Regions from separate parts of the Homo sapiens genome. Here regions 1, 2, 4, 5, 6 and 7 are each linked to region 3. Evidence: promoter capture Hi-C in 16 types of primary human blood cells and fetal thymus (Javierre and others, 2016). All regions are on one chromosome and are shown on one strand. The core of a region is centred on a gene start or on the middle of the fragment in contact, and the rest is flanking DNA. Distances in the headings are between cores, read along the strand shown.

Region 1 (3,699 bases), core at 227-2,726, 1.8 Mb before region 3:
TGTCGGTGTAATAGTTTAACCTAAGGATTGGGGTTGAAGGGAACTCGGACAGACCACATGGGGTTCGCGGACCCGGGGTGCTCTGAGACCGCCTTCGGCTGGGTGGGCCATTTGCAGCTGTTTGGAGACCGGTCGTCTTTATCCCCTATATGCTAGGCCTGCGTCTCAGGTGACCGTGACTCCTGAAGCTTTTCAGCGCAGGTGTAGCCGGCTTGGCGTCGCCGCAGTGAGGTTTGGAGCCGCTTTGGATTGCTGAGTCACTTTCTTCAGCCACTTAGGGAAACCGAAAGTGGAAACTCGTGGGGCTTGAAATAGTGTGTTCTCTTGAGAACCACCGAGGCAGTGAGATTTGGGATTCCGGGGTCTGGAGATCGTGCTTTTTGTGGACTGCGTTTGCAGTTCCTAGGGTGCTGCTGATTCACAGGCCTTCTCTGTCTTTAAGTGTGCAGATCATTGACCGCTCAGTTTAAGAGTCACTGGAAATCCTGTCGGAACAGAACTAATAAAAATGGTCTGAAAAACAATCTGATGAATCCTTCAGTTTTTCCTTTCTCGTTTTTCCTATACAAATTACCTAACAGCGCTTGTAGGCATTTATTCCGTAAACGTTTAAATGGTTACTTAGGAACTTAACAGCTTCAGACTTTTCATAGACTGTTGAGGATTTTGCAGTGGGACTTGTTAACTTGTTTGGCTTTCCTTTGTTAAACGTATTGCATATGTGCAGTCAGTTTACTCCTTTTATGTACTTCTCTATATAGAAAATACAGTTTCTAAAAGATTTATTGGTTATTTGCACTAGAGTTATTGAATAATGAGTTTCTCAGTTCCTCAATTTCTACTTCTTAACAAGATTCTCATGCTCAGCCTTAAGTTCAAGTACCGGTGTTCTAAATTTGATAATAGGCAACTTATGTCTGGAATGGTTTAATCCATTCAGTTATGAATGCTAAAGTTCTGCCATACTTTTCTTGGATAAGTAAATGCTCAATATTAAATCTTGTAGCAAACTGACTTTGCAATTATATTAATATTACCTTGAATTAATAGTATTTCATTCTACAAACCTTTTAAAGAATACTTGATAATGTAACCATGTGGGATATTTTAGTAACAATGGTAGGGTTAATGATCTGGGTTTAACAGATCAGGAAACAGACTCAGAAAGTACCACTGCTGAAGGCTTTTCTTCTGTCTTCATTTCTCCCAAGAACTCCAGATACGAATATTTGTTTGTCTGCTTGACATGTCTGTTCACTTGATCGTTTAATAGTCATTTCGTACTGCATGTGAAAGTAGAGCTCTGGGTTTTCTCCTCACCTTGCCATTTTGCATCTACTACAGTCTTCAGCTCAGTGAATGGTCATATGAAAAAATCTGTTATTCATCTTTAATTCCTTTTTTTACTTTACTCCCAGAACCAACGCTTTAGCAAGTTTATTTTTTTATTTTTATTTTGTTTGAGACGGAGTCTTGCTCTGTTGCCAGGCTGGAGTGCAGTGGCACGATCTTGGCTCACTGCAACCTGTGCCTCCCAGGTTCAAGCAATTCTCCTGTCTCAGCCTCCCGAAGAGCTGGGACTACAGGTGCGCACCACCACGCCCAGCTAATTTTTGTATTTTTCGTAGAGATGAGGTTTCACCATGTTGGCCAGGATGGTCTCCATCTCTTGACCTTGTGATCAGCCCGCCTCACCCTCCCAAAGTGCTGGGATTACAGGCATGAGCCATCACGCCTGGCCTAGCAAGTTTATTTTTATTATTTTTATATTTTACTCTACTCTCAAAAAATATTCCCTTCTACCTCTTCTCTCGTCTAAGCTACTACCGCTATCTTTGGAACACCTTATCTTTGCTTCTGTTGTTCTCTCTACAGCTTATTTTCCGCATAAAGCCAGAATGATGTTTTTAAAAATATAGATGATACCACTCCCCCTGCTTAAATTTCTCATTGCATTTAGAATAAAATACAGAGTCCTTTTTCCATCCTGGAAGACACAACATAATCTGGCCCTCAGCTACCTCACTAACACAGTTTACTCTTCTTTCTGCTGCTTACAGTGCTTGGGACACAGTGACCTTATTTCTGTTTCTTGACTGTGCTAGCCTTATTTCTACCCTAAGATCTTTGTGCCAAATGTCAAGAAGACTTTTCCTTCATATCTTAAATGGCTAGCTCCTTGTCATTTAGGTTTGACTCAGCCTAAATATAACTGCCCAGAAGGCCTTCCCTGATGATGTAGTCTGTAGTAGTTCATTGCTTTACTCTTTTATTTTCATCTTAGTGCCTTTTCTGATTTACTGCTGTACCTCTAGCACCTAGATTCATGTCTGATGTGAAACTGAAGGACTTAATGAATGAGTATACCTTTGTATTCCGTATAGTAACATAATAGATACTCATTAACTGCTTGGTGAATGCCGAATGATTTGTTTGAAGTCTTTTAGTTTGTTAATGGCAGAGTTATCGTTACAAATTTAAATGTTCGAACTCCAGTGCTGGTTCTACTGCCCCATATTAATCTTTTTCAAAAATGAGTTTTGTAGTCTGGGTGAAAAGTGTTCTGACTTCACCTGGGACCTGTATCCATTACTCTTCAATAGCTGAAATCGAAGGTATATAGCTTTATCTTAGCTACTGTTGCTGCTCTGACAAGTTTCCCTTTCCTCTCTTGAAAGCAAGGTCTTTGTTGGGATATAACAGGTTCCTGATGTTTCAGCCATTTAGAGGGGAAGAAACTGTATGGTCATTACTGCCAAAGATACAAGCTTACTGTTGCCCTTTTCTCCTTAAGTATGACCTGTCAGCCTCTACATTCTCTCCTGACGGAAGAGTTTTTCAAGTTGAATATGCTATGAAGGCTGTGGAAAATAGTAGGTAAGAAACATTTAACCAGGTATTACATGTCTCCTTTTATTTTATATATTTTTGGCGATTAGGCTTTGTTATGTTACTTTGGTACAAATTAGTATATGTCCCCAAATCTCAATTTATTCATTTCCAGATCTCTTTCTAGGCCAGATGCTTTCCATGAGCCCCAGTCCTATATTTCTCGTTGATTCCAGGATTATCCACTTAGATTTTCCATGTTGCAGAGTGTATAAATCACATTCATTATCATCTTTTTGTTTTCCATTTTCAAATTCTTGATTTGTATCATAGGCTTCCTCAGCCATTAGGTTTGTGACCTTGTTATTTTTTATTTCTCATACATCTTGTGTTTTAAATGTCTTATGCAATTAGTCACATGTTCGATTCAGCAAAGATTTTTTCTATGTCTGTTTCTGTTTTGAGACCTGAGTCTCACTCTGTCACCTAGGCTAGAGTGCAGTGGCACGATCTTGGCTCACTGCAACCTCCGCCTCCTGGGTTCAAGTGATTCTCTTGCCTCAGCCTCCCCAGTAGCTGGGATTACAGGCATGTGCCACCATGCCCGGATAATTTTTGCATTTTTAGTAGAGACGGGGTTTTGCCACGTTGGCCAGGCTGGTCTCAAACCCCTGGCCTCAAGTGATCCGCTCACCTCGGACTCCCAGAGAGTAGCCCCAGTCCTATATTTCTCGTTGATTACAAAGAGCTGGGATTATAGGCGTGAGTCACTGTGGCCAGCCTAAATACGATTTTAAAAAGTCAGATTTATGCAAATATGAGGAAATATCTTTAAAAAATTGAAACCTTAAAAACGAATGTGTTTTTTCC
Region 2 (3,967 bases), core at 447-2,946, 1.7 Mb before region 3:
ATGGCCACGTGCGGTGGCTCACGCTTGTAATACTAGCACTTTGGTAGGCCGAGGCGGGTGAATCAAGTCAGGAGTTCGAGACCAACCTGGCCAACATGGTGAAACCCCGTCTCTAATAAAAATACAAAAAAAATTAGCTGGGCGTGGTGGCGGGCGCCTGTAATCCAGCTACTCAGGAGGCCTGAGGCAGAAGAATCGCTTGAACCTGGGAGGCGGAGGTTGCAGTGAGCCAAGATCGCGCCACTGCACTCCAGCCTGTGCCACAGAGTGAGACTTTGTCTCAAAAAACAACACAAAACTCATTAGAGAAACTCAGCAAGTTACAAAAAAATAATAATTAAAAGGGTCTTTAACGCTGAGCCCTTAAAGTCTTTTTTTTTCTTTTTTTTTTAAGACAGTCTTGATCTGTCACTCAGGCTGGAGCACAATGGCGCGATCTCAGCTCACTGCAACCTCCACCTGCCGGGTTCAAGCAATTCTCTTGCCTCAGCCTCCTGAGTAGCTGGGACTACAGGCGCGCGCCACCATGCCCAGTTAATTTTTTGTATTTTCAGTAGAGGCGGGGTTTCACCTTGCTGGCCAGGCTGGTCTCGAACTCCTGATCTCGTGATCCGCCCGCCTTGGCCTCCCAAAGTGCTGGGATTACAGGCGTGAGCCACCGCGCTCAGACTTTAAAGTCCATTTTAAGTCTAGACTTCTATGAAGGTAGACTGCCGAGATGTAAAAGAAATAAAATTAGTTATTTAGCTTTTAGATCGGATTACATTTTCTGCTTTGATTATTCTAAAGCCTCCAGTAAGGCGTAAAGGGAAAGCTCTAAGTAGCGCATCCTGGGAAATGAGCAGATCAGGGAAGGGGTGTTAGACCTGGTATTATGTCTAAAGACGATTTTCATTTAAAGGAGGATCTTCCCCCGGGCAGCTCAAGGTCACATCGTAAATACCTTATAGTCTAATTCAGTGTCCCAAAACAGGACCCCGACTCCCCAGATCCGGGTTGGGGGTGGCTCAGGGCCTAAAGTTCCTACCCTCGCCCAGGTGACACCATCTCCAGGAAGGTCTGCACCCGACCCGGCGAAGCGCTGTCCCGCTTCGCACCCCCCACTGCTCCAGGTACGTGCGGCGGCCTCCTCGGGAGACCCCGCCACTTTCCTGGAGCGTAGCCTGCCACCCCCCGTCCGGGAACCCCGGATTCTCACGGCAGAGAACAGACACCATACTTAAGCACAGGCTCTCGCATCCGACATCAGTACAAGGCTGGGGGTTGTTGGGGGACGGTTGAGCCTTGGGAGGGAGGGTCAGGGTCTGGACAGGAGCCGCGGCCGCCAGATGGGAAAGAACACGTGGGAGCAGTAATGTCAAGTGACACTTAAACCCTTAGACGCCGATTCGTTATAACGCGAGGAAATCTAGAAGAAAAAGCAGGTACCATCAGCGAATTCTAAAATCTCCTAAGGATTAACTTCGGTTATTTTCTGCTTAGACAACGCTTTCTATTCCCGACTTCCTCTCCAATAATGACCCGAATCTGTCGAAACTTCTTGGAAGCCTAATTTACCTAATCCCACGTCCCTAACGGTCTTCGGAAGCGAAGCAGTGTCAACAGTCCCTGGTAAACACAAGTAGTATTACAAGTCGGGAGCTCTTCAAGTCTTGGATGAGACTGTAGAGCGGTCTTGTGCGGCAATGTGCTACCTTAAAATAAATAAATAAATAAACCCCTGTTATGTCCGGAGTTTGTTTCCACCCGGAGAGGAATGGAAGAGCACCAGAGAGCGCTTAGCTTTCTGGTTGGATGTTTTGGGTGAGTTTCTTGGCGCGCATGCGTGTTGTGTCTCAAGGGCGGGTTTGAAGGGAAGTGGGTGTTGACCTGCGGGCAACTGACGCTGTTGTCAGATTACACCCACGACGGTGCGGGTCTCGGGCGTTCTGGAGATACGTAGGGGTGAATTTATGTTTCCGACGATTGCATCTGGAGGGGTGTGTAAGACTCTGTGGCTGAAGAAAGCTATTACGCTTCTTATGTGGGTCATTATTTTAAAAATAGCATTTCGCTTTTATTTGCTTGACTGCCTCTTCTCAACAAATTTTAAGCCCGCCACTACATGTGTTTGGTTTTGCCCTACCAGCTCTGGGGTTGGGGAGTGCACTGTTATGGTTATTGTTGCTCCTGTGGCCATTCTCTTGTCATCCCCACTTTCACATTTTGGCGTGGTGTATTAATAGACTGAGTGGGATTAATGGGTAAATATGACTTTATAGTCAGCTCTAATCCTGGATTCAATATCAGAATTTAGATTTTCAGCTTTGTGGATGTTCGACATTTTAAAAACAGTTATTGCAAAGAGGTGAAAATTTTGTTCTGAAGTCTTAAGGAAACAGAGAAAGTTTTTCCGTCCTTAAGTGTGGGACTTGTTTTGTGACCAACAATATGAAAGGCTCTGAGGTCAGCTTGGAGAAGAAAAAAAAGATTAAGATGCCAGTGAAGAGACTTCGTGAGGTAGTTTCTCAAAATCATGGAGATCATTTGGTTTTGCTGAAAGATGAGTTGCCCTGTGTTCCTCCGGCATTGTCTGCAAATAAACGTCTTCCTGTTGGAACGGGGACTAGTTTGAATGGAACATCACGTGGTATGTGATTCCATGTAGTTTTTCAACCAGTTTTAGTTTAGTAAATCTTTAGTCCTTATTTGTTTAAATTCCCAAACGTAAGATATAAGTCTAGTTTGTACAGATGTTTGAAAACTGACCCTGTTTCCCGGGAAAATGGCCAGGAAGCCTATAAAATGTTTGAATAGATGGAATGAATGAAACTTTAACGTCCCCTGTTGTGCTTTTTTTTTTTTTTTTTGCATTGACTTTTGCATATTTTTTTTTTTATATTTATGGTGGATACACTTAACTTGTATAATGTGCTTTATTTTCCCCCACGTAGTGTTTTTTATAGTTTTCCCCCAAAGTAGTGCTTTTTACCTAATTCACTACTTTCTTTTCATAGTGGGAAAAGCAGGACTTCTGCCAATTGATGGCTTCTATATTCCAATTCACTTAATCTGTCTAGAGCTCAGTGAAAATAAGGATAACATATGCTTTACCCACTTCGCTGCTAATTGTGAGGATTAAATTAATGAATATGTGAGCAAAAACAGCAAAACGCTTTTGTAATGCTGTTCTTTGGGGGATACAGCGGTGACACTCAAATAGTACTGCTGTTAAATTAGACCTTTACATCGTATACATATTTCTACCCATAGTTTGTCCACATCCAATAGTGTATGGTTATATTTTAAAATGTTTCGTGCTTAATCTCACTTTATTGTCAGTACCGAACCTTATTTTCCCAAATATCAACTGTAAAAACTTTCATTCAGATATGTTTAAATACATTTTCTTAACTTTTTTTGCATGCAAATTGTCTTTCCAACTTCTGCGTTATATGGAGTTTATAGATCTTGAATCATGCATATACAGTTTCTAAAGCTAAGGATCTGATTTTAAAATCACTAAAATCTATTCCTTTGTTTTGTTAGGTTCATCAGACTTAACTTCTGCTAGAAATTGTTACCAGCCTCTATTAGAAAATCCCATGGTGTCAGAAAGTGTAAGCAAAAGGATTCTTAATTATGCTCACGTTAAAATTTTCAGTATTGTCAAATAATGCATTCTTAAATTATGTTTGATTAGCAGCATGCCTTGTTTTTATTTAAATATCACTTACCAAAACAAATGTTTTATATACTACAATTGTGACTTTGAATGGTGTTTGAGACATTAAACAAAAGGCCTTCCCTAGAATCAAAAATACCTATTAGTAAGATAATGGCCGCTGAAAGAGATAGGATAACTGAAAAGAAACTCTCTTACTATTCAGGGAAAAGGTGTTCTTGCCCAGAGACTTAACATGTTCTTAGGTAAAAGAAAAGGAACAACTAACAGTACAATTTTTCTTTAATGTGAGGTGTGCTTGCA
Region 3 (3,858 bases), core at 564-3,063:
TCCTACCTCAGCCTCCCAAAGTGCTAGGATTGCAGGCAAGAGCCACCACGCCTGGCCCAGCTGTCCACTCACCCTTTAAAAATGGATTGCAACCATCCTTAATTTCCCCAGAATTATGTGTCCCACTTTGTTTCTGAAGCTCAGCGCATACCTGTTTATCACATACACTGTAATTACTGATGTCCTTGTTGTTCAAGTTATGTCCTTGATGTCCAAGTTATATTTTGGTAAATTCCTTAAGGATCATGTTTTATTTGACTTTATATCTGCAGCAATTAGTGTAGTTCCTGACAAATAGGAACCACTATTCCCTTCACTATTTCAATAAATGTTGAATGAATATTTTATACACAGCTAACCAAAGGGCTTGTACCATATGCCCTACTAATTTTATTCTAAGAAAGCACGATGTTCAAATATATTTGAAAAACAGCAGATATTTCAACAATAAACATGTTAATTCTGCTTGGGTCATATGTAATGCCCATGAGAAGAACAAGCATAAATACAGACTCTCTACATAAAGATAATAGCTCATCCTTACTAAGCACTTAAGCTGTGCCATTTACTCTGCTAAGCAATTTACAATTATTTGATTTAATCCAATGACATAACTCTCTGCGGGTTAAGTTCTATTATTTGCCTTATTTTACAAGATATGGGGAAACTGAGCACTAGAGAAATTACATAACCTCAAGATCTCACAAGTAGTAAGCAGTAGTGCCAGGGTTTCAACCCAGACTTCCTGACTCTGGAGCCTCCACTCTTAATTACATGAAACTCAGACTTCTTGGCGGTAAGTGATGCTTCCGAGATGCTTAATGTGGTACTCTGACCCGCAATGAGTGAGCTTCAATGAGAAAAACTATGGATGGACCAACAGCACGTTTTCCCATATTCTATCAAATCGTGAAGATACCAAACTATGAAAGGGTCTACCTGCAAATTAAGTCCTTGAAGACAAGTATATGTATATCCGGGGTTTTCTTCCACATGCTTTCAACACACTACACTTTTGCTCTGGACACAATATCTTAAAAATAAATAAATAAAGCTTTGGCTTTTAATATGAACACAGTAATTATTTTTCTATTACGACCTGAAAACCTAAATACTTAAATACAAAGTCAGCATTTCCAAGACAGCCAAGAGCCAAGAATTAAAAAAAAAAAAAAATTAAGGCCGCATTTATAGTTTTGAGGAATGGAGATCCAAACAAAACAGTCCACAAGTCATCTTGGACGCTGAAGTGTGCAGAACTGCTAGGGCATCTACCCAATCACATGGGGGAATTGCGGGTACCTTGATACCGACAAGTTAGCTTCAAAGTTCCCTTACCCGAGCCTCTAAATCAGCTGAGACCAATCATTGTTAACGCTCTCCGGGGCCGTCTTGAGGACTCCCAGTTGGCAATCTGGAACGTGTCCAGAACTTGGTGGGGCGGGGGGGGGATCATATTTCGTGGAGAATGGGGGAGGTGAGCCCTGGGTATAGGGATAACTTTTTAACTAGCGTTAATTGGGGTCTTTGCGGCCAGGCTGTAAAGATTCCCGCCACACTAATATGAATCAGCCATGGCCTTTTAATTGGAACGCCGGAACTCTGCCTTGTTTTATTAATATCTTAATAACACGTTTCTATAATGGACATGTTGGTTCCTTGTATTTTAAAACGCAGCCACAAACTGAGGCGATAGCGATCACGTTATGCAGTCCCCAATCGTCCAAGCCGAATAGGCTGCATGAAGTATCACTCAAAAACATTCATTACCGTCGGTGTGTTGAGTGGTAACGCCAGTGTGCGAATTCATTAATGGAAATCACGGGACCCCGAGCGGTTGGAGATCTGCCACACCCCTCTGCCTGCGTTAAGACAGCCTGACCCGACCTCTGGTAAATTAATGCGCAAAATGGCGGTTGCACGTCTGTTTCCCCACCCCGGCGCACAATCCTGAGGAAGGACGTCACGTCACCAGGGCAACGACGCTCTTGCGTAAAGGCCCGGCCCAAGGGAACGTTCAGGGCGTCTCGGCTTTCCCCGCTGCTGCTTCTGCTAGGCCCAGTGCGAGACCAGAGCACGAGCGACTCCCGTCGTCCCCGGCCAGGCAGATGTTGGCCTAGTCCTGGCGCGAACGAAGCGCGCTATTTCCCTGCTTCCTCTAGGCCAAGCCTGCTTTACGGCAGGGCCCGCCTCGGGAGCGAGCACAGACCGGGGCAGCGAGGCCAGCCAGGCGCCGACGAGGTCCCCGAACGCGCACGCGCTCCGTTCAGCTCCGGGTGGCGGCCGCCGGAGTAGACGTTAGCCATGGAAACCGAGAGCTGGCCCGGGCGGGGCCGCGGTGAGCTCGTTATTCGGCCGCCGCAGCTTTTCTGCCTCCGCATTCGGGCACTAACCAACCTCCCGGCGGGAGCGCCCAGCCCGAGTTTACCTGCAAAAATGCGGTCCCTGGGATGCCTTCGCGTCTTCTCTTCCCTCGGGTGACTTGAGGTACGTTCGTTGTCCGACGTCCACCTCGGGACTTCTTCGGCATCTTAATGTCCAAGCCTGTGCGGAGAGCCAAGTTGTTCTAGGGGCTTTCATTGCCACAAGAAACATATTTTTCGTTTTTCGTTGCAAAACCTTTAAGTGCAATTATTGCGCTTAATGAACTCAGTCATTAGAGATAGTAATTCAGTGTGATTTTAACTTTCCTTTGAAAGACTACTTTAGCCTGTTGAATTGTAGCATTTTGTTTCTAAGAGACTCGTACGAAATGGAATATGGCACACCCACCCGGAGCTGTGTCCGTTAGGTAGAACTGTACTCTCGCAATATCTCCAACTAAACCTCTTTTGTCCGAATTGTTCAACTCATGGCCCCCTGAACGTGAAGCGCTCCTTCCCCACTGATCTCGACCTCTGTCCCCACAACCTCTTGTCTCTCCAGGACCAGAATTTACTCCAGTGAATCGGAAGTTGTTTTCCATGCCGCTGAATTGGTTATCTGCTCTGTATCCATCATTTTTCACTTACTCATTTTTTACTATTTTTAGGTGTTTGTTTTCTTCATTAAATCATTCCTGCAGTTAGGGCAAAGACTGCCCTTCATGTTATTTGGTATCCACCGCCACTCACGCCAAATCCCCAGACCTTTAGCATAGCATCCAGTTCAGATGTTGCCTTTTCACGAATTTAACTGTTTGTAGCATCTGTTGGCTGCTCCTAAATTTCCTACTTAAAGAGCTGCCTTCTAATTATTAACTGCTGTGGAAAATACCAATCAGGGAAGCTTTTTCTTTTTTAAGAGCTTTATTGAGATGTAATTTACATTCAATACAATTCACCCATTTATAGAATTGTGCAACCCTTACCACAGTCAAGTTTGGAACATTTTCATCACCCCAAAAAGAAACCTTTTACCCTCAGCAGTCACCACCTCCCTCCCCCCATTATCCTTACCCCACCAGCCATAAGCAATTACTAATCTGTTTTCTGTCCCCATAAATTTGCTTATTTTGGACATTTCACATAGACGGGAAAATACAATATGTGGCCTTTTGTAACGGGCTTTCACTTAGTGTGTTTTCAAGGTTCAGCCATGTTGTAGAATGTATGAGTACTTCATTCCTTTTTATAGTCTAATTTCATTGTGTGGATATATCACATTTATCCATTCATTGATGGACATTTGGGTTGTTTTCATTTTTTGGCTGTTAGTAATATTTCTTCTATGAATCTTTTGTGTACAGATTTTTGTGTAGACATATATGTTTTTATCTCTGTTGGGTGTATACCTGAGAGTAGAATTACTGGGTTATATGGTAACTCTATGTTTAGCCTTTTGAGGAACTGCTAGACTGTTTCCCAAAGGAGCTGTATC
Region 4 (3,836 bases), core at 187-2,686, 1.7 Mb after region 3:
GTGTTTATGGCTGCAGGGCAAATGTCTTTATTGTTTGTTGCTGGTTTTAAAGTAAAAGTTCTACATATTTATATTTGTATAGCGTATTAGTCACTCGCATCAACACTTTGAGACATTTATTTTAGCTAATGTTTTATTTAAAATCTGGCATTTTTTATCTACTAATTTCAGGTCTTACATAGAAACCTATAATATGCACAAATGTGGCTTCATTGTTTTATCCAAAGTGGTAAGAAGACTGTTACATTGACTTTTTTAAGGCCTTGTTTTTTAAAATTTTTTGTTAACTTAGCACAGCAGAACAGTTTCAGATAGTTTATTCATTATGCTGTTTATATCCACAGAAAATATATGTGAACCTCGAAAATTTGAGACACGTCTCAGTTAATTTAGAAAGGTTATTTTGCCAAGGTTGAGGACGCACCCGTGACACAGCCTCAGGAAGTCGTGTTGACATGCGCCCAAGGTGGTCAGGGCACAGCTTGGTTTTGTACATTTAGGGAGACATGAGACATCAATCAATATATGCAAGAAGTACGTTGGTTCGTTCTGGAAAGGCGGGACAACTTGAAGCAAAGGCAGGAAGACTGGAAGTGGGGAGGGAGCTTTCAGGTCACAGATTGGTGATACACAAATGCTTGCGTTCTTTTGAGTTTCTGATTAGCTTTTCCAAAGGAGGCAAATCAGATATGCATCTATCTCAGTGAGCCGAGAAGTCACTTTGAATAGAATGGGAGAGGTTTGCCCTAAGCAGTTTCCAGCTTGAGTTTTCCTTAGTGATCTTGGGTGCCCAAGATACTTTCCTTTCATGTACATTTCCTATGTTATTTCATTGATTGATTGCCAACAAAGCCTTGTTGCTCTCTTGGATGTTTGGACAAAGCTTTTGGTTGTATGCTGGAGTATGCTCTTCTCCCTTCCTCCTCCTTTCTTCTGATGAGCTTGCAGTGCTCTGGACAATTAGGAGTGCGGGTTACTTTGTGCTGTTTCTCTATCTTTTTCGCCTCGGCTTCGCAAGGACAGAGGAGATTTAGTGCAAATCCCTGAGAGTATTGGAGAAAATGTTCGTTAGGTAAAAAGTAAAGTAGAGGTTCTGCTTCAAAGAGTTTCCTCCCCATCTAATTAAGACTAAATAGTAACTTATCTTAGAAGCAAAATTTATTCAAAGACCTATGCTAACATTCTTAAATATCTGCTAGCTGTAATAAAGAAATCAGTGTATTTTATGTTCTTAGCTCCCACAATTTAGCCTAAATATTTGCCCTGGCGTGCTTATACTGGTCCAAGCAAGCATTAAGTCATAGCCTGTTCTTCTTCCTTATTTAAAAGTGTTTTTACCTTTCTCAGCATTCCACAAGTTACTTCAAGTTCTAAGTTGCTAGTCAATGAAGACAGATACAGAATGTGAAGTCCCGTTCCAGCCAATAGAAACCGGACACAGCAGTAAAGTAGATGTGTCAAGTTATAAATGACCCTGTCTCCTTTGTTCAGTGTAGCAAAACTGCTGGCGACTGTACCCTTTTGTGCAGAAAGTAAAAAAATGGCCTTGCTGAAGAAATAAAATTTACGTTCAAGTGATACTTCTTTATAGCACCAAAGAACAAGCATTTTTGGCAATTGTATATTAAAATGCACATAGTTCTGTAACATAACCATGATTATTTTAACATTATGGGTTTTAAATATTTAACCAATAGTAATTTGAAACCCCTTCCTTCTTGCTCTTCAATTTGGCAAGTAAAGTTGATGCTTTTGGAAGCTGCGTCATGTTTACCTAGTAGTTGCCTTTGCCTTGGTGTAAAATTATCTCTTTGTGCTTGAATCATGAAAGAATCAGGTATGGAATCCTCATCAAATTATAACTACCGTTTAAACAAGTATATACTTTTGGCTTTTGTTCATTACTTATTCACTTAATGAGTCGTAATATATTTTCTCTCTGTTTATTAGTGGCAGAATGAGAAATTTAGAAAAGAACATGTTTACAAAAGAAGCTTTAGCTTTGGCTTGGCGATATTTTTTACCTCCATACACCTTCCAGATCAGAGTTGGTGCTTTGTATCTGCTATATGGATTATATAATACCCAACTGTGTCAACCAAAACAAAAGGTAATACTTAGTGAGTTATTTTTCCTTAGCAGAAATGTAAAACAAGTACCATATTTTTATAATAAATATTATATGATTAAATATGATTTAAATAAAATGCCAGTATTTTAAAATTATAATATGTTTGTGAAAAAATATTTACATTTAGTACAACTTTTTTTTCTTCCTGGTTGCAGATCAGAGTTGCCCTGAAGGATTGGGATGAAGTTTTAAAATTTCAGCAAGATTTAGTAAATGCACAGCATTTTGATGCAGCTTATATTTTTAGGAAGCTACGACTAGACAGAGCATTTCACTTTACAGCAATGCCCAAATTGGTATGTTGCCTAAAATAATTTGGTTTTTTCAAAATGAGCAATTATACTTTATTGTCCATAAAACCTCTCAATCTCCAGAAAATGGAATAAGTATTGATAGTGTTCAAGACTTTTAGCTTTTTTTTTTTTTAGACAGAGTCTTGCTCTGTCGCCCAGGCTGGAGTGCAGTGGCACCATCTCGGCTGACTGCAACCTCCGCCTCCCGGGTTCGAGGGATTTTCCTGCCTCAGCCTTCTGAGTAGCTGGGACTACAGGCATGCGCCACCACACCAAGCTAATTTTTGTATTTTTAGTAGAGACAAGGTTTCACCATGTTGTCCAGGATGGTCTTGATCTCTTGACCTCGTGATCCACTCACCTTGGCCTACCAAAGTGTTGGGATTACAGGCGTGAGCCACTGCGCCCGGCCTGGCTTGTAACTTTTTTTGTGTGTGTGTGCCTTTTTGATACAGAGTCTTGCCCTGTCGCCCAGGCTGGAGTACAGTGGTGCTATCTCAGCTCACTGCAACCTCCGCCTCCAGGGTTCAGGCAATTCTCCTGTCTCAGTCTCCTGAGTAGCTGGGACTACAGGCGCCCTCCACCACGCCTAGCTAATTTTTGTATTTTTAGTAGAGATGGGGTTTCACCATATTGGTCAGGCTGGTCTTGAACTCCTGACCTCAGGTGATCCACCCGCCTCAGCCTCCCAAAGTGCTGCTCACCTCAGGTGAGCCACCATGCCCGGCCTTGTAGCTTTTTTAAAATAGGAGAAGGTATTTTCTAATTACTACTTTTTTTTCTGCAAGCAAAAATTTAGCCTTTGCTTTTTAAATGCAGTGTATCTGGGTGCCACATATTAAGCGAACTGTTTTGAGAACAAATTAGATTTGGCATCTGCATTTGCTCATGTCTCAAACATCAGAGGAGGTTACTGAAAGACGTACAAAATTGTTAAAAATTCTTTGGTGAAAAGTTGAAACTTCTAATAGCATTTGTTTTTTTTTAATCTAGTGGTAATTGAGACACTAGGTTGAAGAGCACTAGTTCTGGTTCTGCCATTAGCTGGCAAATTATGTAATTTCTGTCTTATCTGAATTTGTAGGCATGTGGCATGGCATGTGAGAGGATACTTCACAAGTCTAACAGTCTTTGGAACGTGGATATTTAACAGATGTACCCTTACAGCTGGTTTTGTTTTATCTGTGTTTACTTATAGACAATTTTTAGTGCTGGCTTATATTTCAATACTTTTAACAATACTGTTTAAAAGATACTCATTTAAAAAGACACGTATTATCACATAGCTGTCATATAGGATGAAGAAAAAAATTCACCGAGCTGAAGTTACAGAAGAATTTAAGGACCCAAGTGATCGTGTGATGAAACTTATCACTTCTGATGTATTAGAGGTAAATTTTCTTTTATGCTCT
Region 5 (3,538 bases), core at 491-2,990, 1.6 Mb after region 3:
GTTCTGTGAGCTGCTCCAGCAAAGATGGGTTTGTGAGAATCCCAACTTTTGAAGCCTGTCAGTCAGAAGTTCCTGAGGCCAGACTTGCAACTCCTGTTGAGGGGGCAGTCTTGGGGACTGAGCCCTCAACCTGACACTGTCTCCAGGTAGATAGTGTTAGAATTGAATTGAAGGACACCCAGTTGGTGTCCGCTGCAGAACTGATTGCTCACCTGGTGGTGGAGAGAACCCCTCCTCTCCCGATAGGGTTGCAGAAGTTGTCTTCTGTGTTGTTGATTGCTGTGGTGTGGGAGCAGAGGGGGGAAAAAAGCTGTTGGAGAGTTTTTTCCAAAACAATAGGAGATTATTTAGATTTATAAAAATAGAATCAAAGTAGATTAACTGAGCACATTGTGAAATATAGAGTAGAGCTGTGTGTAAGGAGTATATCTTAATGTCAAGCTGACACCAAATTGAATGTTTGCTGGAACGTTCAAAAATCTAAGCTTCCCAAATCTGTGAAAACACTCAGGTTAGTAAACAGTCTTATGCAAACAGCAAGACAATGCTCAAAGCCATTTAAGGAAAAAGAACAGTAACTGAATTCTCTTATGGAAATGTGAGATGTTGTTTTAGTAAGTACTGATGGTGTTATACTTTTTGTTTATTCGTTTGCTGGTATTTCAGTTCCTAAAATTCCTTCAAATATGCTGCAAAATACAAACCAAGAACTTGGTGGATTTTCCATTTGTTTTCCTGTGGGAAATGATGGAATTAAAAACCTTGAGGATTAGACCTTGAGAGTTACCTTCCAGTGTTTATGCCACCATTATACAAAATTCTGGAGGACAAAACCCTTCCCACTTAAAAACCAGTTAGTTTCAGAAAATCACCTCATGTTAGGAGACTGCATCATTATAGTATGTGTGTTAGCTTTAGGTATAGATCTAAAATATTTTTAATATTTTAAAAACTTAAGCCTTTCTTCATTAATTTGGCCTAATACAAGTTAGAATAACTTTAAAAATGAGTACAAACAACAAGGAAGGGCCAGGCGCAGTGGCTCAACGCCTGTAATCCGAACACTTTGGGAGGCCAAGGTGGGCAGATCACCTGAGGTCAGGAGTTCCAGACCAGCCTGGCCAACATAATGAAACCCCATCTCTACTAAGAATACAAAAATTAGCTGGGCGTGGTGGCACACGCCTGTAATCCCAGCTACTCGGGAGGCTGAGGCAGGAGAATTGCTTGAACCCAGGAGGCAGAGGTTGCAGTGAGCCGAGATCGCGCCATTGCACTCCAGTCTGGGCAACAAGGGTGAAATGCCGTCTCAGGAAAAAAAAAAACAGTTTCTGTGACTGCTAGACAAATGTTGAGCAAGTAAAACACCAACAATGTTGAACTTAGATATTGAAATAGCTGCTCTGTACAAATAAAGTCTACTGGGAGTATAGACTGAATTACCATCTTTTGACTCTTTCGCCATAATGATTGGCATTACCGGAAGGGATTACCTTGCTTTGAAGAGCTGCTGGACAGTAGAGCAGAGAGCATCTATTACCATTGTAGGTGCCTTTCAGTTAGGATTTTGGATTTATAAGCAAACTCCAAGAAAGAGCCTGGTTCTGAGTTTCTCTGAATAGCTTAGGTCAAGTCCTAAATTCTGAAGCCAACTCCTATAATTCCTTCTTTATGTCTTTGGCATGTGAAGTAGGCAAATTTCGAACTTTATAATAATAGCCTAGACTTACAAATACTTGCCTTGGTAATCAGGATGAGTTTTTGAGAGACAACATAGTCTAGTGTTAATCGCGTGGACACCAGACTGCTTGAGTGAAATACAGGTTCTACCATTTATTAACGGAGTAATGTTGGGTAAGCTATTTAGCCAGGGTCCTTATCTGTAACATGGTGATAATAATAAAGATTAAATAATAGGTGAAAAATGTTTAGAATACCACTGTGTTATTAGTAAGCACCATGCATAGGTGTTTGGATTTAAAAATACTGGCAAAGGCCAGGTTGGGTGGCTCACACCTATAATCCTCGCACTTTGGGAGGCCAAGGCAGAAGGATCGCTTTAGCCCAGGAGTTCAGGACCAGTCGAGGCAACATAGATTCCGTCTCTGCAAAAAATTTAACAGAATTAGTTGGGCATGGTAGCGTGTGCCTGTAGCTACTTGGGAGGCTGAGGTAGGGAGGGGGAGGATTGCTTGAGCCCACGATTTCGAGGCTGCAGTGAGCTTATGATCATGCCACTGTACTCCAGCTTGGGTGACAGAGCAAGACTCTGTCTCTAAAATAAAATGAAAATAAAACTGCAGGCAAAAATGCCAACTGAAGAGTGAACATGAACTTTTCTTTGCATTTTTCTTGGGCCTGAGACTTTAAGAAGTGCAGGGCAGTTAAAATGATGAGATATAATTCTCACCTATCAGCTCAGCAGAAATTAATAAGATTAAAAAGATGCGTAATATATAATATTGCAGAGTGCATGGGGGAATTGATATACACATTCATGAACTGGCAGAGACAAAAATGGGCACAGAACCATTTGGAAAGCTATTGTGTATTTTAAAAAATTTCAGTAGCACATTTTTTATATCATGAAATTTCACTTCAGAATGTCAGTCCTGTAGAAATACTGACGCAAGTGCAAAAACAACAAAAACCAACTTGTACCTTCAAGGCCAGAAAGAGTTATTTCACCAAATAACATAATTGAGGTACATTAACTTTATTAGAAGTAAATCTGATAATCTGCTCACATTTTAAATAGTTATGGTTTAACTTCAGTTCTTGAAGTCACATATTTTTACAATTAGGAATGCTAACAGGCTTTTTGTGCAATACGAAAAGATGACTTTAAATGCCTACAATTATTTTGTGTCCTTTTATTTTTTTTTAATTTTTACTGACCTACTACAAAGCACTAAATATTTTATGTTCTTAATCTGAAGAACAATAGACATTCTCTATAAAACAACTCTTGCTTATTCATGAACTTTGTACACAAGAAGCTTAATAAGACGGGCTCAAAATTATTTTTCTAAATATATTTCCTATACAAAATAATTTCAAGATATAATTGTTACTTTTGTGTCTAATACTGTATGTTAAATAATAAAATGGTAAGCATGTAAAAACTACAATACCACAAAGATTGAGCTATTTTGCCAGTAGTATACTCCAACTTTAGTTCTAGAACAGTTGTAGAAATGGGTAAACAAACTGTTTTAACTGTACTCTTAACTGAAATATAGTACCTTATGCAGTAGCAGAACATATCAGCAGAAGAACTTCACTTGACCTGTACTTAAAAACAAAACAGATGCAATTTATAAAATTTAGAGAAATATAGTGACCTTATTTGCATGTGGAAAATGTACTTCTTTCTGATCTACATATCTTCTGTTGTGCAATGTAAGCAGTAAAACAAATAGTACAGGATTCATCTCTGTGGGACCTAGACCCCCTGGTCTAACAAATAATTCTTGGTCAGTACTGTAATTCTGTGGTATAAAACTGATAAAATTAGCCTTCCTGTGACTAGACAAGA
Region 6 (3,850 bases), core at 1,068-3,567, 1.6 Mb after region 3:
ATTGCTATAAGTATAATGAAAAGGGAAATGATGGAAGATCTCTGCAGCTATCCTCATAAATGAGGGTGGGAACACGATGGGCAGTTCCAAAGTTGAAAATAGAGAATATATGTGGATTTATATTAACATAATTGGTATTCTTGGATAGTTAAAAATGGCTAAACTGTAGGAGAAGCCCGAGTAATTACTGTTAACAGAGGAATAAATTTGAGGGCAATAATAATGATGATAGGCCAGGCACTGTGGCTCATGCCTGTAATCCCAGCACTTTGGGAACCCGAGGCGAGCGGACCACCTGAGGTCAGGAGTTCGAGAGCAGCCTGGCCAACATGGTGAAACCTCGTCTCTACTAAAAATAGAAAAATTATCCGAGTGTGGTGGTGCGTGCCTGTAATCCCAGCTACTTGGGAGGCTGAGGCAGGAGAATCACTTGTACCTGGGAGGCGGAGTTGCAGTGAGCCGAAATCGCGCCACTGCGCTCCAGCCTGTGGGCCAGAGCGAGACTCCGCCTCAGAATAATAATAATGATAATAATAATAACGCCACCAACAATACTAAGAGCTAACATTTACTGAGTGCTTACTATGCACCAGATATTGTTCTAAGTATACATTTATTATCTCATTTAACCATCCATAATACTGTGGTATAGACACTTTTATATCCATTTTATAAATAAGTAAACTGAGTTATGGAGAGATTAAACGACTTGCCAGTAAGATTCAAAGCCTGTGTACAAGCTCACGCTTGATTCTGGAGCCAGTGTTCTTAACACAGTATCTTGAGAATGTTAAACTAAAAAGTTTTTAATTTACAGTATTCTTTCCACAATTAAAAAAGAAATTATGAGTAATTATTTTTAGTTCTTTCTTCTCTTCAGGCATTTCCCATGGTTCTTTTCAAGACATAATACATATCATTTAGTGTTGTAGATCTGAAAAAACAAAAGTAGCGTGAAGATCAAAAATTTTCTAAAGAGACGGAGTCTCGCTACGTTCCCTAGGCTGGAACACCCAGGCTTCTCCAGCCTCACACCTCTGAGTAGCTGGAACCACCCTGTCCGCTAAGGTCAATGTTTAATCGTATCTTTGTAGGTCTACTGACCAGTTAAAAAGAGGTGCTGTATACATTGGTTGTTGTCTTGTCAGAGTTTGATGCTTCTATATAGACCATTGTTTTTACATGCTAATACAATTGAAAGCCACTACAGATATTTATATTTACAACCCAAAGCTAGGTTTTAACAAGAAACTCATAAGGCAAAGGTGAGAAGTAAAATAATTTAGCGCCAAGTGGAGATATATGTGCAATGCTACTTTGTTGGGCTCAAAACATATTTTTCTTTTAGAAGACTGACAGGCTTGAAGTTTATGCCTCCAAAGACAAAAGTGATTATGTTTTGTTTAGTAGCTTGCAAAGTTGCCAAAGGCCATTTTTTCTACTCTTTCCCTGAAATTGGTTTATATGCTTATTAAAGTCATTTATACCTATTTGCAAATGCTTAACATAGTTTCAGATTTTAAGATTTCCCTGCAACTTTATTTCCCTTGAAGTTTACAGCAACAGGAGTTCATTTTTATTTTTAATTGCATTTATTCAGTAAGTAAACTCCGCCACAGAAAAACTTAGTAGACAAGGTGAGTTCCCCTGTGCTCCGTGGCAAAGAGTGCGGTGGGTGACATTGACCCATGGTTAGGTAATCTGGTAAGGAAAGACCCCGTTGTAACACATCTGAGCAACGAGACCAAAGGAAGGGCTTGCTGCCACGAGGCGAAGTCTGCTTTTTTGAACAGAGAGCCCAGCAGAGTTGGGCGGCAATCGTGCCCAGCACTGAGGCCGAGGAGAAAGAGAGCAGGAGCATTACATTACTGCACCAAGAGTAGGAAAATATGATGCATGTTTGGGACCAGGCAACCGAAATCCCTTCTCAGCAGCGCCTCCCAAAGCCGGGCACCGCCTTCCTTCGGAGAAGGCGCAGAGTCCCCAGACTCGGGCTGAGCCGCACCCCCATCTCCTTTCTCTTTCCTCCGCCGCTAAACACAGACGAGCACGTGAGCGTCGCAGCCCGTCCCAGCTGTGCCTCAGCTGACCGCCTCCTGATTGGCTGAGAGCGGCGTGGGCTGGGGTGGGGACTTGCCGCCTGCGTCGCTCGCCATTGGATCTCGAGGAACCCGCCTCCACCTCAGGTGAGGCGGGCTTGCGGGAGCGCGCGCCGGCCTGGGCAGGCGAGCGGGCGCGCTCCCGCCCCCTCTCCCCTCCCCGCGCGCCCGAGCGCGCCTCCGCCCTTGCCCGCCCCCTGACGCTGCCTCAGCTCCTCAGTGCACAGTGCTGCCTCGTCTGAGGGGACAGGAGGATCACCCTCTTCGTCGCTTCGGCCAGTGTGTCGGGCTGGGCCCTGACAAGCCACCTGAGGAGAGGCTCGGAGCCGGGCCCGGACCCCGGCGATTGCCGCCCGCTTCTCTCTAGTCTCACGAGGGGTTTCCCGCCTCGCACCCCCACCTCTGGACTTGCCTTTCCTTCTCTTCTCCGCGTGTGGAGGGAGCCAGCGCTTAGGCCGGAGCGAGCCTGGGGGCCGCCCGCCGTGAAGACATCGCGGGGACCGATTCACCATGGAGGGCGCCGGCGGCGCGAACGACAAGAAAAAGTAAGCCCATTCCCTCGGCCCGCCGCCTTCTCCCCCGGCGACCCCGCCCGCCTGCCCGCCCTGGGCTCCTGGGCCGGCCTCGGCGTTAATGGGATTGGGGGGGGCAGCCTTTTTGTTTCTGCTGCTGCTCCCCTCCCCTCTCTTCCCCCAACCTCGCCGGCCGGGCTCCCCCGCTGTCCACGTCGCCATCTTGTCGTGGGGGGTGGGAGACGCCTCGAAAGTGCTTTCAGGGGCCGGGGTCTGAGCCCTGCTTGCCCTCCCCGCCGGCCGTGGGGGCCTCGCGCCGCCCACCTACCCGCCTCAAAAACCCAGCCTGCTCTGTGGCCCCATCCGGAGGGGACTTTACCCAGCCTGAAAACCCCGGGAAGAGAAATGAGCTGCAGCTCGGTAGCCGCGGTTTGCACCCGGAGCTTCCGCTCCTTCCCGCCCCCATCCTCTCCAGTTCCATTGAAAACTCGGCCCTGGGGCGGACCCTGCACGCTGGTCCTGGCTTTCCAGTGGACTTGGGGCCTTGAGTTCCCGACTGAGGGACTCGCGTGGTCGGATGCGATCTTGTCCTGTAGTTGTCCAGCCGTCGCGGGTGTCTTTGCCTTTGTGCATTAGGGATTTGCCGCGATGGCCTTAAGATGCGAACTTTTTAGTTTGCACGTGCAGGTTTTGTTTCGTTTTAATCGCCTTGAAAAACTTGCCTAGACTGAGAGTCAGAGTAATGGGAATTTAGGGAAATGGCAACATTTTAAAGAGAACTTCAGAATTGGATACTTGAGTTCATATCACCTGTCACGAGAACGCAGATATTATAAATGAATATATGCCTCATTCATTCTTCAAATAATGAAAATGTAGGGGCTGGTTAAATTTAGGCAGTTTTAATGATACTGAAAAAAGTATATGATGAGTGAATGAAATGCGGCACTAAAATGTTGCAAAAATTTTCGAACTCTGTCTCATTTTCCTGAAATTGAAGTATATTAAAGGAAAACCGTCAACATATATCTAAAGTAAGTAATCACTCGGTTAGAACTTAATGCAAGTTTTATAAATCACCTTGAAGTTTGAGTCTAAGGGGTACATTAGAGATTAAGAATTGTGAGTTGGACCAGTGGTGTTAAGAGCGGACTCCCCCATCCCCCAACACACACACAATTTTGCCCACTTTGGCATTTTAACTTTTAAGGAAATCACTTAAGGAATTGAAGATTTAGA
Region 7 (3,589 bases), core at 332-2,831, 1.9 Mb before region 3:
GTAAGGGGTCCTATTCAAATAATCTGACTCTATTAAGCAAAAAATTTAATCTCTTCCCACGTTTCTTAAAGTTTTCTTCCCCGTCACAACTCCAACTTCATTCTCCTGTCTCCAGGAATTTGCTTTCAAGGAGGATCATTGATCAGTAATTTGGACTTAAACATGAATTTTACTAATATCACATTCCAAATTTCTGCATTGTTACAGCCTTAGTTTTTGTTATGGAAATAGCTTATCCCCAACTACCCCGCTAACTCTAGTTACCAACCATTAGAGTAGGGCCTTTTTTTTTTTTTTTTTTTTTTTTGAGAGACAGGCTCTCACTCTTGTTGTTGCCCAGGCTGGAGTGCAGCGGCACAATCCCGACTCACTGCCGCTTTAGACTTCTTGGGCTCAAGGGATCCTCCCGCTTCGGCCTCCCAAAGTGCTGGGATTACAGGTGTGATCCTGCGCTCGGACAGTTGGGACATCTTAATACAGTATAACCTCATCTTAACTTGATTACATCTGCCAAGACTCTATTTCCAAATAGGGTCACATTCTGAGGTTCCCAGTGGACAAGAATTTTGGGGGGGGGGGCATCATTCAACCCAGTACACCAGCTAAATGTTGCTAGTCCTCACCGATTTACCCTTGAACCTCTTTTCTTATTGCACAGCCTCTCCTTTGACAGTCTTTTCCACTCCTATGCATAGATACAGTTAGAGCTAATATTTGCAGGAAAAAAATATTTTCACAGAAAGCTGTGAAGTGACAAAGATGTAAACAGTAATGTAAATGTTAAAAGTAGTGGCAAAAACAGCAATTACTTTTGCACCAACCTAATAGGGGCCTTTGCTTCAATGTTTCTTCTATTAAACCATCCCGACCGCTCCTCTATGGACAGATTCAAGATTCACAGACGCTACTCTAGCTGCTTAATTCTGGAGTAAAATAAAAACTTTCAGAAAGACTACTAACTAAAGTATTGTCTGTACGTATTATTCTCTAAAGCATCATTAGCATAGGCTTTGCAATTAGGAAGTCTGTGGGTTTGTTCCTGGCTCTGCCGTGGGACATTGGGAAAGTTAATCTCTCTGAGCGTCGGTCCCCACAGATAAGAAAACACATATTCTTGTTATTTCTTGAGAAGATTAAATATTAGGCAAAACGCCTAGCACAGAATAGGGTCTCAGCATCTTCTGCCCCCCAAGAGCATGAATCAAAGGTTCGGAATTGCGTCGTCTCTCGGCTGCCCCTTGGCAGCCAGGTCCTCAGTGACCTCTTCACAGTGAGCTGAGACCGAACCTCTTCACAGCCGCGCGTGGGTGCGGCTTTGGGGCGTGGTGGGAGGGAAGGATAGGGAGGCCGGCTCCGCCCCCTCAGGGCGACCGGCGCGCCTGATCGCCGCGGCCTCCGCGCCCCCGCACTCGGATTCGCGCCCGCCAGCGCCTCTTTTCCCCTAGTCCTGGCGACGGCAGCACCTGCAAGGGTGGGTCCAACGCGGAATGAGGCACAGCCTGGGACAGCCCGGGCCCGGCGCGCCGCGGCCGCGCGAGGCCCCCGCCGTCGCCGACGCCCGAGCGCCGGAGCCCCGGCCCCGCCCCGCGAGCGCCGAGACTTGTTGGCCGCGGAGACTGCGACCCTCTTCTCTCAGTCTGCCTTACTACCATGCCGCTCTACGAGGGCCTGGGGAGCGGCGGGGAGAAGACGGCGGTCGTGATCGACCTGGGAGAGGCCTTTACCAAGTGAGTGGCCGTGACGCCAGCTGTGTTCGACCCGAGGGGAGGGCGGGTGGCAGAGCCCCAGGCACTGCCTGGGTCCTCATCGCCGACTCGCTGGGCAGCTCCGGGCCTCCCCTTTTCTTCAACCAGCGCCCTTGCAAATAACAGCTCTTATTATTTCCTCCCTGGGCGATGCGAATCCGAGGATCGGGGTCTGACTCCCAGAGAGGCCCAGAAAGCTTCTGTTGAATTGCCCTCGTCGCCGCCCCTTGTCATCACCCCAAACCCAACAAACCCTTTGGGATCATCTGTGTAGGGGATGACAACCGTGACCTAGACCCCGCTTACCCTGGGCTCCTCAGTTGAGGAAGGCAGCCAACCGAATGTAAATGCTCGATGACGAATTTCATCATAAAATATTGAACGGAGTTTATTTTGGTGCTGAAAATGGAAAGATGTTTAAGACAGGGCTATCGCTGCTCAAGAATTAGGGAGACTGGGCACATTAAGAGGTGAAACCCTATAGATAAGATTCTGGAAATCCTTTGTTGGCTCCCCTAAACTCGAAGGTTAGATTTGACATGTTTTAAACAAACCAACTTGTAAACAATAGAGAGGAGGTTCTCAACCTTTCGGATGGCATAGATCTCTTTAATGGCTGGATGAAAACCACAAATGCACAAATCTTAAGGTACTTATACACAGTTTCAGGGAATTGGCAGACAATCAATGTGGTCCTGGGACCCTAGATTAAGAGTCCTTGTGATGGGCTCAACAGAGAGGGAAGTAACAGGCAATTACATCATATATGTATTTATGAAAATGAAACATTTGAAAAATCTTTTTATATCTCTAGGCACTTCCTGACGTGTAGTAGGTATTTAATAACTATTTATTGACTAAGTGGTTAAAAGAGCCTATTTAAAAATTGGACCCCAGGAACTCCAGAATTGGATTAAACATAGTCCTTGGTTAATGACATTCTCTTATTGTTCTATGCGAGGCCCTTCCTTATTTATATTTTCTTATTAAAATTATTTTGAAAGCGTAATAAACAGTTCGAGGCTTCTAGTCAAAGATAATTATTTTGGCTGTACTTGGAAGAAATAAGCAAAAAGCTATATTTGAAAAAGACAGCAGGAGGATGATAAGATAAATGTATGAAGTAAAAAAAAGGAATTGAAGTCTAATGGCTTGCATTCTGAGATGTTTGAGGAGCACTGATGCAAGTAAACATGGAGACGGGAATAGGAGGAGATGGAGAGAATTATTTGGGAATACGAGGAGAGCAGTATCAAAAACTAGACAGGACAAGAAGACAGGATGTTAAGACTAAACTAGTATGATGATCATTTTTAGCAACGTTTTTAGCAAATTTTTGTTTTACTAACATGAAACAAAAATGGAAATACCTAAATACTCAAGAAAAGAGCATCGTTTTTAAAATAATGAAATATGTGGTTTTAAAAATAATACTGTAATTCCAGCAGTTTGGAAAGCTGAGGCGGGCTGACCACTTGAGCCCAGTAGTTCAAGACCAGCCTGGGCAACATGGGGAAACCCAGCTCTACACAAAATACAAAATTTAGCCGGCGGTAGTGTCGTGCCCGAAATCCTAGCACTTTGGGAGGCCAAGGGGGGAGGATCGCTTGAGCCTGGGAAGCGGAGGCTGCAGTGATCTGAGTTTGTGCCACTGCACTCCAGCCTGGGCGACAGAGCGAGACCCTGCCTCAAAAAAAAAAAAAAAAAAAGTGATAGCAATGAAGATTATGTTAATATGGGCAGAAGCTTACTGTATGAGTTAATTATGTATGAAGTGTGATTAAAACTATGTCAAATATATATGCATAATCATAAGAAGTAGACTGAAAGTGAATACACCAATA

Evidence for each region. The method cuts DNA at HindIII sites, captures the fragments that hold promoters and counts their contacts. A CHiCAGO score of 5 or more calls a contact.
Region 1: a contact is called between a fragment that was not itself captured here and the fragment with the promoter of PCNX4-DT in region 3, in 1 of 17 cell types (fetal thymus). The highest score is 5.1, in fetal thymus.
Region 2: a contact is called between the fragment with the promoter of TIMM9 here and the fragment with the promoter of PCNX4-DT in region 3, in 4 of 17 cell types (naive CD8 T cells, total B cells, naive B cells and 1 more). The highest score is 9.7, in naive CD8 T cells.
Region 4: a contact is called between a fragment that was not itself captured here and the fragment with the promoter of PCNX4-DT in region 3, in 1 of 17 cell types (fetal thymus). The highest score is 6.4, in fetal thymus.
Region 5: a fragment that was not itself captured here is called in contact with the fragment with the promoter of PCNX4-DT in region 3 in 1 of 17 cell types (erythroblasts); the score reaches 5.5 in erythroblasts.
Region 6: the fragment with the promoter of HIF1A here is called in contact with the fragment with the promoter of PCNX4-DT in region 3 in 2 of 17 cell types (fetal thymus and total CD4 T cells); the score reaches 5.2 in fetal thymus.
Region 7: the fragment with the promoter of ACTR10 here is called in contact with the fragment with the promoter of PCNX4-DT in region 3 in 8 of 17 cell types (activated CD4 T cells, non-activated CD4 T cells, naive CD8 T cells and 5 more); the score reaches 11.3 in activated CD4 T cells.

Annotation. Positions count from the first base shown.
Region 1 is chr14:58,244,956-58,248,654 of GRCh38, forward strand. It overlaps PSMA3 (proteasome 20S subunit alpha 3), which reads left to right. Exons shown (of 11, transcript NM_002788.4): 2 at 2,795-2,877. Among named protein-coding and RNA genes, the nearest start is that of PSMA3, 2.0 kb to the left of the region's middle. RefSeq lists enhancers at 1-797, 1-361. The HindIII fragment of the contact is 2,580 bases long and covers 187-2,766 here.
Region 2 is chr14:58,425,835-58,429,801 of GRCh38, forward strand. It overlaps TIMM9 (translocase of inner mitochondrial membrane 9), which reads right to left and starts at 1,697. Exons shown (of 6, transcript NM_012460.4): 1 at 1,558-1,697; 2 at 1,220-1,408. It overlaps KIAA0586, which reads left to right and starts at 1,885. Exons shown (of 31, transcript NM_001329943.3): 1 at 1,885-2,629; 2 at 3,529-3,599. The coding sequence starts at 2,431. RefSeq lists enhancers at 1-832, 1,847-1,896, 1,967-2,156. The HindIII fragment of the contact is 11,466 bases long and covers 1-3,967 here.
Region 3 is chr14:60,089,933-60,093,790 of GRCh38, forward strand. It overlaps PCNX4-DT (PCNX4 divergent transcript), which reads right to left and starts at 1,814. Exons shown (of 5, transcript XR_943918.4): 1 at 1,771-1,814. PCNX4 (pecanex 4) reads left to right here and starts at 1,991. Exons shown (of 11, transcript NM_001330177.2): 1 at 1,991-2,487. RefSeq lists enhancers at 1,812-1,941, 2,032-2,221, 2,185-2,818. The HindIII fragment of the contact is 2,213 bases long and covers 1,053-3,265 here.
Region 4 is chr14:61,764,926-61,768,761 of GRCh38, forward strand. SNAPC1 (small nuclear RNA activating complex polypeptide 1) reads left to right here. Exons shown (of 10, transcript NM_003082.4): 2 at 1,951-2,110; 3 at 2,287-2,427; 4 at 3,711-3,815. Among named protein-coding and RNA genes, the nearest start is that of SNAPC1, 4.4 kb to the left of the region's middle. The HindIII fragment of the contact is 1,111 bases long and covers 882-1,992 here.
Region 5 is chr14:61,713,724-61,717,261 of GRCh38, forward strand. The region is part of intron 1 of HIF1A (hypoxia inducible factor 1 subunit alpha); the gene reads left to right. It overlaps HIF1A-AS3 (HIF1A antisense RNA 3), which reads right to left. Exons shown (of 3, transcript NR_144368.1): 2 at 3,246-3,294; 3 at 1,835-2,105. Among named protein-coding and RNA genes, the nearest start is that of HIF1A-AS1, 20 kb to the left of the region's middle. The HindIII fragment of the contact is 2,514 bases long and covers 484-2,997 here.
Region 6 is chr14:61,693,196-61,697,045 of GRCh38, forward strand. HIF1A (hypoxia inducible factor 1 subunit alpha) reads left to right here and starts at 2,318. Exons shown (of 15, transcript NM_001530.4): 1 at 2,318-2,644. The coding sequence starts at 2,610. It overlaps HIF1A-AS1 (HIF1A antisense RNA 1), which reads right to left and starts at 2,628. Exons shown (of 2, transcript NR_047116.1): 1 at 2,512-2,628. RefSeq lists an enhancer at 1,637-2,006 and silencers at 2,077-2,376, 2,677-2,776. The HindIII fragment of the contact is 8,611 bases long and covers 1-3,850 here.
Region 7 is chr14:58,198,568-58,202,156 of GRCh38, forward strand. It overlaps ACTR10 (actin related protein 10), which reads left to right and starts at 1,582. Exons shown (of 13, transcript NM_018477.3): 1 at 1,582-1,727. The coding sequence starts at 1,651. RefSeq lists enhancers at 1,025-1,154, 1,775-1,964 and a silencer at 1,225-1,614. The HindIII fragment of the contact is 4,366 bases long and covers 1-1,940 here.